2 separate regions of the Homo sapiens genome follow, and region 2 is linked to region 1. The links are contacts of gene promoters, found by promoter capture Hi-C in human tissues and cell types (Jung and others, 2019). All regions are on one chromosome and are shown on one strand. Each heading gives the region's core, a stretch centred on a gene start or on the middle of the fragment in contact. The rest is flanking DNA. Distances are from core to core; before and after follow the strand shown.

Evidence for each region. Contacts are between HindIII fragments. The study calls those that stand out against the background at their distance.
Region 2: a contact is called between the fragment with the promoter of PEX11A here and the fragment with the promoter of ZNF710 in region 1, in 1 of the 25 tissues and cell types used here (lymphoblastoid cells).

What each region holds. Positions count from the first base shown.
Region 1 is chr15:89,996,931-90,004,000 of GRCh38, reverse strand. ZNF710 (zinc finger protein 710) reads right to left here and starts at 2,677. Exons shown (of 5, transcript NM_198526.4): 1 at 2,387-2,677. RefSeq lists enhancers at 328-1,095, 1,096-1,864 and silencers at 1,564-2,063, 2,479-2,647, 3,056-3,225. The HindIII fragment of the contact is 12,330 bases long and covers 1-7,070 here.
Region 2 is chr15:89,687,429-89,694,498 of GRCh38, reverse strand. It overlaps PEX11A (peroxisomal biogenesis factor 11 alpha), which reads left to right and starts at 3,745. Exons shown (of 3, transcript NM_003847.3): 1 at 3,745-3,922. The coding sequence starts at 3,867. It overlaps WDR93 (WD repeat domain 93), which reads right to left and starts at 3,688. Exons shown (of 17, transcript NM_020212.2): 1 at 3,642-3,688. It also overlaps the pseudogene RPL36AP43. RefSeq lists an enhancer at 3,821-3,910. The HindIII fragment of the contact is 14,807 bases long and covers 1-5,540 here.

The DNA.
Region 1 (7,070 bases), core at 1,428-3,927:
ACTCACTGCAGCCCCCTCCACCAAGACACAGGCAACCAGGCCAGGCTGGAGGAAGAAAATGTGACCCAAACATCCAATTCCCCCTACCCAAAAGAAAGCAGCTCTATCCCCACGGCCCTCATGCAGGAAAGCCAGCTCCAGAAGGTCACTGGGGCACCAGGTGGGCACCTCTCTGGAGCTACAGATGACCGATCAGAGGTTCTGCTCCGAGACTGGCAGGTACCCAGCACAGTTACCCTGGCCTGAGGGTCAGCTAATAAAACCAATGAGAAAGTATAGAAAATAACATTCTCTTTAAAACAAATGAGAAAGGAATGGCCACTCTAGGTTTTCAGAAGTCAAAACCAGATAGCCCCATCGGCTTTGATCACATTAGGAATACACTGTCTCTTATCTAACGAGTTAAGAACGGTTTTCTTCTTCCCTTCTCCCACGTGGCCCCATTGGTTCTCTAGGCCCCCTGGTGAAGATGCAATAGGGACACAGACCCCCAGCCCTCTACTTGGCAGAAATGAACTTTGACTGGTTTTACTTACACGTGTACAAATGCAGGACTGAGAGGGCAGCTTCAAAGCTGGCTGAGTGACCCCCAAGAGCACAAAGTCCTTCTCCGCACACCTGTGGGGGAGTTTTGTGAATTTCCCAGATGCCCACAGGGACTAGTTATGTACACTGCAGGTCGATACCGGCCGGGAGTTTCCATTTTGCACAGCAAGAAAGGTGCTCAGGGTGCCCTTTGCAGGTGGGCACTCGGCCTGCAGCTCAAGGGTGGGCCATGACGTTGGTCCCTCACTGGATTGCCCGGCAGGCCTCCCTCAGACCCAGTAGGACGAGTACCTCGAAGAGTCCTTGTGATCCCAGCACTTTGGGAGGCCGGGGCGGGCGGATCACGAGGTCAGGAGTTTGAGACCAGCCTGGCCAATATGGTGAAACCCCGTCTCTCCTAAAAATAATTAAAAATTAAACGGGCGTGGTGGCGTGCGCCTGTAGTCCCAGCTATTGGGGAGGTTGAGGCAGGAGAATCGCTTGAACCCGGGAGACGGAGGCTGCAGTGAGCCGAGATCGCGCCACTGCACTCCAGCCTGGGCGACAGAGCAAGACTCCATATCAAGAAAAAAGAAAAGGCACCCCGGATACTGCTACGCCTTGCCCTAACCGTCTCGCAAATCCTAGAGATACATGAATGACCCTTTCAGGTTGGTTAAAATCCACACAAGCACCTCCCTGGCCTCTTAAATCTTTCCAAACTACAGCTTAGACTGGAGGGAAGCAGTTGCAGCGCCCATAAAAGTCATCTTAAAAGGCAAGTTGGAAAAAAACCCGATACGCACTAGTTAGCAAGTCCGCGGTGAAGGGGGCGGTGGCCCAAGGGCCGGATCTGCGGGATCTGTGCGCCTAGGGTGGGGAGGCTGGGGCTGCCCCGTCGGTCCCCGAGCCCGCGCGCCCACCTGGTAGCCTGAGGGCCCCGATCTGACGCTGGTGCTCACGCCCCACAGCTCCATCCAATTAGGAAAATGACCGCGAGAAGACGGAGAGAGGGCGACGAGGAGGAAGGGGGGCTGAGCCGCGGGAGGCTCAAGACGGGCCGTAGGGACCCCGCCCGCCACCCCCACCCCCACGCCCCCAGACAGCGAGCGCCGGTCCTGGGTCCCCGGCCCGCGGCGCCCCGACGCTGTCCCGGCGGAGATCCCGCGGCGCCCAGCGTGCGGCGGCCAGTGGCCCTCGGGGACGCCCCCAGCCCCGCCAGCGGCGCGCTCAGCTCTCCCCCACCCCCGGCCGGCTGGGACGCGCAACAACCCCACCCGCTCCGAGAATAAAGTTTGTGGGCAGCCGTAGGGGCGGGGCGGCGAGGGGGTGAAACTTTGAGTCCCGGGCCGGGTGTGGGGGGAGCGCACCCAGCACCGGGACACCCACGTGCGGGCCCGAGAGCCTCCGCCACCGTCGCCTCCCGGGCCTCCCGCGCCGCCGCCGCCGCCGCCGCGACGCTTTCCTTTCATTTTTGCCTCTCTCTCTCTCTCTCTCTCTCTCTCTCTCATTCGCGCGCTCTCCTCCCTCTCGCCCTCTTTCGCTCGCTCCCTCCCTCTCCCTTCCCCCTCCCCCTCCTCTCCCTCCCCCCCACCCCAGACGCCATCTCTCCCTCTTTCCCCGGCTCTCCCTCTCTCCCTCCAGCTCTCCGGCATGAGGGAATGTGGAAGTGAAAGGAAAAGACGACATGTTTGCAGCGCGGCGCGGGCCTGCGCGCGGCCGTCCCCAGGGAGAGGCGGGGGGCGGGTCGGCCGCGGCCGCAGCGACCCACCCCCGCGCCCCCCGCGCCCCCGCCGGCCGGCAGCGCGGGGCTGCGGGGCTGGGGCTGGGGCTGGGGCGGGGGGCCGCGCGGGACACTCACCCTGGGTCCGGGCGCGGCTCCTGCGCTGGGGCCCTCGGCGGGCCGGGCCGGGCCGGGCCGGGGGCTCCTGGCTGCCCACCGCCCGGGCTGCTGCTGTGCGCCCGCCGCCCGCCTCCACGCGCGCCCGCCGCCTGCTCCTGCCGCCCTCCCTCCGGCTCCTCTCTTTCTCTCTCTCCCCCCTCCTCTCGCTCGCTCTCTCGCTCGCGCTCTCTCCCTCCCTGGAAGAAGGGAATGAGGCAGGGCTGACGTGAAGGGATGCAAAACAGCTCCTCCTAAGCCAGCTCGCAGAGGAAGAGAGAGACAGAAAAGCAGCCCTTTTATCTCTCTTTTGTTTTCTCACTTCCTTCCACCCCCAACACCTCCCTCTTGTCAGCCCAAGTTTTCTTTTCTCTTTCTACCGCAGAGGATTTTTCTTCCTTTCTTTCTCTTTCTTTCGGTTCAACTCTCCCACTCGAATTGAAAGCCTGAAGGGTTTTCTTTCTCCTGTTTTTTTCTTCCCTCTTTTCTTCCTTCTTCCTCCTTTCTTATTTCTCTAAAAGGGTTTTGTTTGCTGTGGGAGTTTCGTTTGAAAATCAAGTCACGCCTTTTTTCCTTCTTTTCTTTCTTTCTCTCTCTCTCTTTTTTTTTTCTCCTCTCAGCAGAAAAGGGGAACAAAGATTAACTGAAGCGGGGAAGAGGCAGACCTCGCTTGGAAATGGGGGGCCCGGCCCTGTCCGGTACAAAGGGGGCCCGGGGGCCCTGCGCCCCGCCCCCCCCAAGGGAAGCCAGGGGCGTCCTCTGGAGAGGAGAGCCGGTGCGGGTGTTGGGGCACGGGTGCGGCTCCTGGGTGCCGGTTCCTTCCCAAGTGCGAGCGAGGGCCGCCGAGCCCGCCCCTCCCCAGCCAGAGGTGGCAAGCTGGGTGTGTGTGCTTCACTTATGTATTTTTAAAGTAGGCAGATGGGCCTGGAACAAACATCCCCGCAGAGCACTGAACAGCAAAAGCCTTTAAACAGCTGTTAGCAGAGCCCTGGACGGCCTGACTCGAGGGAGCGGCGCGGGCTCCGAGCGCCAGGGCCCGGGTGGAGAAGGGGCTCAGGGCAGCTGCTGGGATCGGCGGGCTGGCGGGGTCCCCGAGCCCAGGGCCTGGGCCTCGGCCCCGGGGCGCACTGCTGGGGGGCGCCGAGGCGTGGTCGCTGGCAGCGCGGCCGTCAGGTCCCTCTCGGCTCCCTGAGGGGCCGCGGGGTTTGGCACAGCCTCGCCGCCCTCCAGCTCCGGCGCAGGCCGGACACCAGGCCTCCAACCTCCAGAACACCCGCCACTCCGAGCCGTTTCTCGACTGCAACGCAGGGCGGGTCCGGAGCCCTCGGACAGAGCCGGGCAGTGCCGCCAGGAAGGGTCAATTATTCATGGGGCGCCCGGGCGTGCTCCCAAGACCTGCTCTGTCCTCGGGTTCTCCGGAGGAGTGGGGAGAAGACGGGGGAAAGTTCCCAAAGCAAAGTTGGTCACATTTGTCATTTTCCCAAGTAAGTATTGAGCACCTGCTGGATGCCGGGCCCTCGGACTGGGGCTGCAGCCAGGGGGAGAAACGTGAGGTCTCGGTGGGCCCCGAGAGCAAACTCAGGGAACAATGCAAGGGAAGCTGCGGCTCAGGACCAGGTCACCGGGAGGAAGGAAAGCCTGGATCCTCTCCCCTCCCTCTTCCCTTCCTTCCCTTCCCTTCCTTCCTCCCGGCTGCATCTCCTTGGCTCCACCCCTTCTCCTCATCAATTCCTCCCACACTTCCCTGCTCTCCCTGGCTTTTCACTGAAGGGTCCCTTCTCCCAGGGAGGAGCAGATGCTGAGCCCCATTGTCTCTCCCCCAGTGACTGCAGCCTCCCGGGGACACGACCTGCCACTCCTCACCCCTCCCCCCAGCCCTGAGCCCTGGGCCTTTAGAAACGAGAGCCCCAAGGCCACGGCCCCTCGCCCCACCCTAAACCAGCTCCTGGTGCTCTGAGCTATGACTCCAGTCACTCAGAACACATTTGTCTCTGACGAGGAGTGAGGAAACAGTAGCCTGAGAGTTTGGTTCAACAAGAAGGACACCATGGTCTTTTAACATCAGCACCCTGAGCCCCCAATGACCCCAGGGCCTTTGCCCAGGTCTGCAGGAAACCACATTTCCGTCATCACTTGCAGCCTCCCACTTAGTACACCCAAGCTGCATCCTCCAAAAAAGCAGAATGCAGCTCTTAGAGCCAAGCATGCACTTAACAAATGCCTACTGAGTACCTACCCCGTGCCGGCGAAGGTGCTGGCTGCTGAGGACCGAATCATCAGCAAGACGCAGTCCTTGCTTTGGCCTTTGGCTTTGCAGGCGAAGGAGCAAGAAAAGAAGACAGCAACCTCAGTGCCATGCGATACAGGCAAGAGTGAACCAAGAAAGCTCCTAAGAGGGTGCTTGGACTAAGGTGGTCAGGTGTGGCTTCCTGGAGGAGGTCGTGTCTAGATTAGGCTGTGCTAGCCAAATGCATGGGAGAGAACAGTCTGTCCAAAGGCCCCAGGGCAAGACGGCACATTATTACAGGTTCTTAGAACTGTCAAGAGTTGAAGTGTTTACTGCAGCTTAGAATACAAGTGGGTGGGGGGAGAGTGAGGATAGAGCACAAGTGGGAAAAAGGGGAGGGTGTCAGGGAAATATTCAGATTTTAGCCCCTCCCACTTGCTAACTTCATGAATGTAAATGAATAACATAACTTCAGTGAATAACTTCGACTTAATTTCGGGACATATAAAATGCAGGTAAGAAGACCTGTGGATTGCAGAGACAGTGTCTTAGTTTAAGGGCCCAGGCTTACCTGCTGCATATTCCTGGGCAAGTCAACCTCTCTAACTTTTCTGTAAAATAGGGATAAAAATACCTGCTTCACAGTTTGTTGTGAGGCTCAAACCCCACACCTAGCATGGTGTCCGGTACATAAGCACCAATCCCCGGTAGCTTTTATTTACTATTACTACAAATCAGGGAGTGACTGGGTAGTGCCCCGATGACCTGGAAATAAGATTACGTTCAGGGTTGAAACCAGAGTGACTCACCACACCAGAAACATGATGAGCTGACTGAGGGGGAAGCATTCCTTCAAAGATGACCAGTGTCCCACTGGGAGGCTGGGATTGGTGAACACCACATCCGATCAAGATGGCCAGGTGGCTTCTCAGGAACATGACCAGAGCTTGATGACTGGTTATCAAGGCCCAGCCTGATCAGCAGAGTTGTAGCCTGCCTGAGGAACAAATAGGAATCAGGAGAGGATGGGCCTCATGAAATCCAGGAAGGCCCCTGGGAGCAGGCACCTGGCTATGTTTGCTCAGGAGAGAGACGTAATCACAGAAGTTTGCACTGGAGGAGCAGGGGAGGGATAGGGGGTGATTATTGACTTCTCCACAACGTGATTTAAAGCTCCCAAAACCTCTTAGTCCTTTGGTTGGATTATTGGTTCTCCAAGTGACCTGCACATGAACTTGGCACCAGCCAAATGCCCTCAAGGATCCAGGCAGATACCACAGCTCCAGTTCCTGCTTTGTAAACATTTTACACTTCTATTATTTCTTTCGTGAGTGGGAGTCTCGCTCTGTCACCCATGCTGGAGTGCAGTGGCACGATCTTGGCTCACTGCAACCTCCGCCTCCTGGGTTCAAGCGATTCTCTTGCCTCAGCCTCTCGAGTAGCTGGGATTACAGGTATGTGCCACCACACCCAGCTAATTTTTTTTTTATTTTTAGTAGAGACAGGGTTTTGCCCTGTTGACCAGGCTGGTCTCAAACTCCTGACCTCAGGGGATCTGCCTGCCTCGGCCTCCCAAAGTGCTAGGATTACAGGCATGAGCCACTGCGCCCAGCCCTCTGTTATTTCTTTACAACACAAGTTCATTGTGAAAGAATTCGAAAACGAACCCTATCTAGAGACATATTTCGGTGTATATCCTTGGACATTTTATATCCTAGTGGCTACATGTAAGTGCACACCATAATAAAACTGTACAAAGTCAATATCATTAAGCAAATGATGACTCTATGTATAAGCATGTTATTTTTACAAAATTAACAAAAATGGCATAACACTACACCTACTGAATTGCAGCTACTTTCACCCGGTATATGTCACAAATTATCTTCTGGTCTGTAAACATCCACATTCTTCTTTGGATACAGGGTCTTGCTCTGTCAGCCAGGTTGGATTACAGTGGCATGATCATAGCTCACTGCAGCCTCGAACTTCTGGGCTCAAGCCATCCTCCCACCTCAACCTCCCGAGTAACTAGGGTTACATTTGTGTGCCACCATGCTCGGCTGTATTTTTTCTTTTTGTTTTTTGGTACAGACTGGGTCTTGCTATGTTGCCCAGGCTGGTCTCGAACTCCTAGGTTCAAGCAATCCTCCTGCCTCAGCCTCTCAAAGTGTGGGGATTACTGGCATAAGCCACCTCACCCAGCCCACATTGTCATTCTTAGTGAATGATATTATTCCATGGTATGTGTGTATCTTAATTTGTTTAAACAAATTGTTAGACTCATGGGATGTTTGCAGGTTTTTCGCTTTTATGAACCTGCTTTGATAAACATACCTGTACAGCCACCTTAGTGCGAGGCTGGGCTAAGCACTTTATTTGAGGTAGGTGTCATTATCATTTTACAGAGGAGGAGGCTGAGGCACCGAAAAGCTTAAA
Region 2 (7,070 bases), core at 2,496-4,995, 310 kb after region 1:
CTTTGGGAGGCCAAGGCGGGCAGATCATGAGGTCAGGAGAGCGAGACCATCCTGGGTAACATGGTGAAACCCCATGTCTACTAAAAAATACAAAAAATTAGCTGGGCATGGCGGTGGGCACCTGTAGTCCCAGCTACTCGGGGGGCTGAGGCAGGAGAATGGTGTGAAACCAGTGAGCCGAGATCGTGCCACTGCACTCCAGCCTGGGCGACAGAGCGAGACTCCATCTCAAAAAAAAAAAAAAAAAAAAGAAATAACCCAACAATTTTTAAATATGTGCAAAAAATTTGTACAGATACTTAACCAAAGAAGATATACAGATGGCAGATAGACTCATAAAAAGATGTTCAGCATCATTAGTCATTTGTGAAATGCAAATTAAAATCATGAGATACCACTACACGTATATTAAAATGCCTAAAGTTAAAAAGATAGACCATGAAAGTGTTGTTGAAGATGTACAATAAGAATGCTCATACACACTATTGGGAAACCAAAATAGTACAACTGGTTTGGAAAACAGTTTGGCAATTTCTTAAAACGCTAATGTGGAGGCCAAAGCAACTCCATCTTAGATGCTAATCCTCCATGTTAACTTCTGATTATCCCCAGTTCCAGAAAAACCTCTAAGATTTCCATTTGACTCATTCCTTGTGTAAGAGCACCACTTACTGTAAATATTGCCCTTAGGTCAAAACAACCTTGATGTTATCATTCTTGCCATAAATTCTGTCCTTAAGCAATTATCTTACACATTCCTTCTGAAGCACCTTTCTCTATAGCACAGAAACCCTGGGTCTGGTGGATAATGGCAGGGATCCACCATCTTGTCTTGCTCCTGAGACATGGCTTCTGTTTGTTTGTTTAAATTGTATTTATTTATTAAATGTTTGTTTCTGAGAAACTGGGTATGTCAGCCTCTTGCTTTGGCCTCTCAGCTTTCTCAGACTTTTAGGGGTAGGTTTGCATAGGCCTGTCCCCTGCAGGACAGTTAAACACATTATCTACCATCATATCCAGTCATTCCACTCTTAGGAGTGGTAGAAGGGAACTGAAAACATATGTCCATACAAAGACTTGTACACGAACAGTCATTACAACTTTATTTGTAGGAGCCCCAAAGTGGAAACAACCCAATGTCCACCAACAGGCAAACAGATAAGCTCTCACGCATTGTCAGTGGTAATACAAAATAGGATAGCCACTTTGGAAAACAGTTTGGCAGTTTCTTACAAAGTTAAACATACCATATGTTTCAGCAATCACATTCCTGCATATTACAGTAGGAAAATTAAAACTTATGTTTCACATCAAAATCTGTACTTAAATATTTATAGCAGCTTTATTTATAATGGCTTCAAATTAGAGACAACACAAATGTACTTCAGTGGGTGAATGGATAATGAATTATAATACATTCACATTGTGGAATAAAAAATTACAAACTACTGATGTGCACAACATAGATAATCTCAAATGCATTATGCTAAGTAAAATAAATCAGAAAAGAAAAGAAAACGCTACATACTATATGATTCAATTTATATGATATTGTGAAAAAGGCAGAATTGTAGGTATAAAAAACAGATGAGGCCAGGCGTGGTGGCTCACACCTGTAATCCCAGAACTTTGGGAGCTCGAGGTAGGTGGATCACCTGAGGTCAGGAGTTCCAGACCAGCCTGACCAGCATGGTGAAACACCATCTCTACTAAAAATATAAAAAATCAGCCATGCGTGGTGGCGCATGCCTGTAATCCCAGCTCAGGAGGCTGAAGCAGGAGAATCGCTTGAACCCGGGAGACGAAGGGTGCAGTGAGCTGACATTGCGCCATTGCACTCCAGCCTGGGCAATAAGAGCAAAACTCTGTCTCAAAAACAAAAACAAAAAACAGATGATACACATCTGTGTTTAGAAGCACCCTGTGCTCACCTCTATCATCTAACATATCTCTGTGTTGTACTTATCAGTTTACTGTGTTCCTTGTTAACCTATTACCCTACGACTAGAGTTTAGCACAGTGGTTGGTATATGGCCAGGACTCAATAAATTCTCATTGCTTGCAGAATTGCCCTGACCTGGGCCACGTATTTAGAGAAAACTTCTGGCTCTCTTCGAGGCTCTTTCCTCTACAAAAAATGAGTAACCCATGGGGCCAAGGAGATATGCTCACCCAAAGCCTAGTTTCCCTCTTCTGGAGTCTAGACCATGTTCAGGGTACCAATACCCCTGGAATTTACTGCCCAAATGACACCATGGCCTGCATGAGCCCTTCTCAGCTTTCACCTGAGGGCAGACCCAGCTGCTAATGTGAGCACTCCTCGATCTGAAAAGGTGGCAAAGGCATGGCTGCTTGCAGAGGTACGGGCAGACGTTGGATGTGGCTTGGAGTATCAGGATGGTATACAAGGCTCCTGGCAGGGAATGCAGGTGGGCACCAGAAACCAGAAAAGAAAGGGAAGTGGGAAAAGACTGGGAGCCATTTCTCCCCACACTGCCATATTCCAGCTGTGTTTCCAGGTATTCTAAGGAGTCTAGGGATTCTGAAGATGAACCTGGCCTTCTACATCATTATGAGGGTCTATTTGTCAATGTAGGAAAACAGACTATATTTTACTTTACAATTTGTTGCTTGATTTATAACTAAAATATTTAAACATACGGTGTGCTGGACTCCATTTGTACTCTTACCCAGGGCCTGCAAATGTTAGGAGCTGGCCTGACCAAGGGAATAAAGATTACGAAAATGTTCACCTTATTTTATTTTATTTTATTTTTTTGAGACAGCGTCTCGCTCTGTCGCCCAGGCTGGAAAGCAGTGGCACAATCTCGGCTCACTGCCACCTCCGCCTCCTGGGTTCCAGCGATTCTCCTGCCTCAGCCTCCCGAGTAGCTGGGATTACAGGCGCCCACCACCACGCCCGGCTACTTTTTTTGTATTTTTAGTAGAGACGGGGTTTCACCCTGTTGGCCAGGCTGGTCTCCAACTCCTGATCGCAGGTGATCCGCCCACCTCGGCTCCCAAAGTGTTGGGATTACAGGCGTAAGCCACAGCACCGGCCGACCTTATTTTGTGGTTATAGAGGGTACATTTTATAAAATTACTGCCACGGAGTGGGTAAGGCTCCTTTTCTTCAAGCCGCACAGAACGAATGTTCAGCGGTGCAATTTCATTGCAATCTATTTTTGCTTCACTTTGCTCATAATGACTCTTTTAGGATTTCCTCAGGTAACAATCTTCTTTCAATGTTCAATAATCCAAGCAGAACATTTTCTCACTTCATCCGCCTCCCATGCTAGGTTCACACTGTGAAATTGGCTTATCTCTGACCTAACCACTTCCTTCACCAGACATAGAGCTGGTGTAGCTCAAGGGAAAGAGGCACGGCGCTGGGAAATGATTAGGCCCCACCGTCCCAAGCAAGAGCTCAGGGGAGTTCTGAGGCTGGAGAGACCATTCGGGATATCACCCCGGGTTCCTGAGAACCTGAGATCTGCGGGGAGGCGTCAGGCATCCGGAAACGCCCGAGTCTGGGGAGACGGACCCCCTCAGACTTTCCTCTAGGAGACTCTACAGGTAAAGGGGAGTCCTGGGACTCGAGGGGAGCCCCGGCATCCAAAGGTAAGATCAGTTTTGCTCACCTGGCCGGGCGGCGTTGCGTCGCCTTGGTAACCACAACTTCCGGCTTGAACCGGAAGTCCGCGAAGTTGCTCTACAGAAAGTGTGCCCGCCCCCTCTGGGGCGGAGAGACTCAGCCCCTCCCCCTCAGCGGATAACCTGGGACTGACCGTTCCCTGGGGATCCGACGGGCCCCAGAGGACCCACGCCTGAGCCCCGTGCGACTCGTGGCCTTTGGGCTAGAAGCCATGGACGCCTTCACCCGCTTCACCAACCAGACCCAGGGCCGGGACCGACTCTTCAGGTGAGTCAGGTGCCAGCGGCCTCCGCCCCTTTCTCGCCCTAACTCGGCTCCCGTGCCTATTCCCCTGCACCCGGGAAAAAGGAGGTGATAGCCTAGTAGATGGAAGCAGGAAGGACGTTGCCAGCTCCTACGGAGGGAGTTTAGTATCCGAGCCCCTCCTTACCCTAAATTCAACGTGAGTGGGCCCAACGCACCCGCGTCCCGTCCTAGCCCCGTGCACGAAAGCCCCAGTGCCTGGCACCCTAGCCGCCTCGAGACCGCCGACGACGGGACACCGGCTGACAGATCCTCCTCCCCTCCTAACTTTGCTCTCCGGGCACAGAAAGATTGGTTCTCTCCACTCAACATTCTTCCGAGGGATCTCCTTTAAAGAGAAACTTTGGATTAGTATTTGTGGCTAGGGAAGCAAACCACTTGGTGTGACTTCAAATATCTCTCTTTTTTTTTTCTTTTGAGACGGAGTCTCGCTCTGTCGCCCAGGCAGTGGCGCGGTCTCGGCCCACTGCAACCTCTGCCTCCCGGGTTCAAGCGATTCTCCTGCCTCAGCCTCCTGAGTAGCTGGGATTACAGGCGTGCACTACCACGCCCGGCTACTTTTTGTATTTTTAGTAGAGACGGGGGTTTCGCCATGTTGGCCAGGCTGGTCTCGAACTCCTGACCTCAGGTGATCTGTCCACCTCGGCTTCCCAAAGTGCTGGGATTACAGGTGCGAGCCACCGCGCCCGGTCTCAAATACCTCTTGAAATGTTTGAGGAGAGACAGAAGTTCTCTTCCATTATTACCCAGGCTGTATCATTGAGATACTGCATGTGGAATAGTTTTGTAAATTGTAAAACAAAATATAGCGGGGATGAGACCACACCAACTGGATTGGGGGGAAATACAGTGGGGAGAAGCTCAGAAAGAACTAACTGCACCTCTAAGGTTCATGCTGTGCTACTGAAAATATTAAACAGAGATTGTGTCTCTTTTTCTTTTGGTTCCATAAGAAACGAAAAGAACTGAGAGATTGTATCTTTAATACGAATACAGTACTAGTTCATGATGTTTTAGAGATTTGGTTGATTCTTGCTTAATGAAAAAATATTTACAGTTGCAGTTTTATTTAACAGCTCTGCATTCTCTTCTGGGTGTGCAAGTGCTGATACAAACAGATCAATTAGAATGGCCCCAATAATGAGGCTTTTGGAAGCCATCTTTATGACAGCTATTGTTCCCAGTGTTTTGCAACTATGAACTTATATAACCCTCATCACAACCCTATGAGGTAGATACTCTAAATATTTTACCCACTTCAGATGGAGAAACTGAAGCAGAAAGAGGTTAATAGGTACTACAATGGCAGAACTGAGGGATTCACATCCACGCAAATGACTCCAGTGCCCACTTAACTACCAAGCTATACTGGCTTTCTCATTAGTTTGATAGGTTTTTTAAATGGTTACTTTATATACAAGCTTCATTAAATAGAAATTTCATTAAATAGAAACCTGTAATTCCAGTGTACCTAGAATGTACCCTGCAGGGTTTATCAAGGAAGTTGGTTAAAAAAATAATCATTTAGGCCGGGTGCAGTGGCTTACACCTGTAATCCCAGCACTTTGGGAGGCTGAGGTGGGCGGATCACAAAGTCAGGAGATCGAGACCATCCTGGCTAACATGGTGAAACCCTGTCTCTACTAAAAATACAAAAATTAGCTGGGCGTTGTGGTGGGCGCCTGCAGTCCCAGCTACTCAGGAGGCTGAGGCAGGAGAATGGCATGAGCCCAGGAGGCAAAGCTTGCAGTGAGCCAAGATCACGCCACTGCACTCCAGCCTGGGCAACAGAGCGAGACTCCTTCTAAAAAAAAAATAAAAACATTAAAAATAATAATCATCATCATTTAGGCCGGGTTCAGTGACTCACACCTGTAGTCCCAGCACTTTGGGAGGCTGAGGTGGGCAGATCATGAGGTCAGGAGTTCGGGACCAGCCTGGCCAACATGGTGAAACCCCATCTCTACTAAATATGCAAAAATTAGCTGGGCGTGATGGCACATGCCTGTAATCCCAGCTACTCAGGAGGCTGAGGCAGGAGAATCGCTTGAATCCGGGAGGCGGAGTTTGCAGAGAGCCAAGAACGCACCACTACCCTCCAGCCTGGGCAACAGAGCGAGACTCTGTCTCGAAAAATAATAATAATAATAATTTAAGATATGTTTATTCCAAAAGATCTGAGATCTCTAGCATTCATTTCCCAACCTCCTTGATGATCTGTATAACCTTTATGACCACACTGGCATTCATAAAATAATACCTTGCTTTCTGTGCCAATAATGCTCATGCAAACACGGTGAACATTCCTAAAACCTGTCAGACTGTAAGAAGTGTGGCAAGCACCAACCCCACAAAGTGACATAGTACAAGAAGAGCAAGGATTCTCTGTATGCCCAGGGAAAGCAGCATTATGACAGGAAGCAGAGTGGCTGTGGTGGGCAGACTAAGCCGATTTTCCAGAAAAAGTCTAAAACTACCAAGAAGTTTGTGCTAAAGCTTGAGTGTGTTGAGCCCAGTGAAGATCTAAGAGAATCCTGGCTATTAAAAGATGCCAGCATTTTGAACTGGGAGGAGATAAGAAGAGAAAGGGCCAAGTGATCCAGTTCTAAGTATCATCTTTTGTTTTATTATGAAGACAATAAAATCGAGTTTATGTTCACTTCAAAAATAAATAAATAAAAGTAATGTCTTACTGTTGGCCTGATCCTTATTATTAGACCAAAGCTCAGAAAGGCAGAATCATTGACATGACCAGTCCTGTAACCAGGAAGGACACTTAAAAAAGAGAAAGCGATTGTTTATGATTCCAGTCTTCTCTTTTTATTTCATTCCTAGTAACAAGTTCACTATTTTAGAAAATGAAAATGTACCGCATTTTTATTGAGAATAATATTTATAGCATAAAGGGATTCAAATGCACTTACAAGACAGTAGGAACCAGGCACCTACTTTATTAGTAGATTGCCAAATGGATTTGGATGTGTGACTATGTGATGTAAAATTTCTCCTACATTTATATTAGTAAGTCATTGTTATTTGTAAGCATGACAATAATCACTTTATTAAATATATAGTATTATTAAGCAGGATTCTGCCTGTATTTTATGTAAAA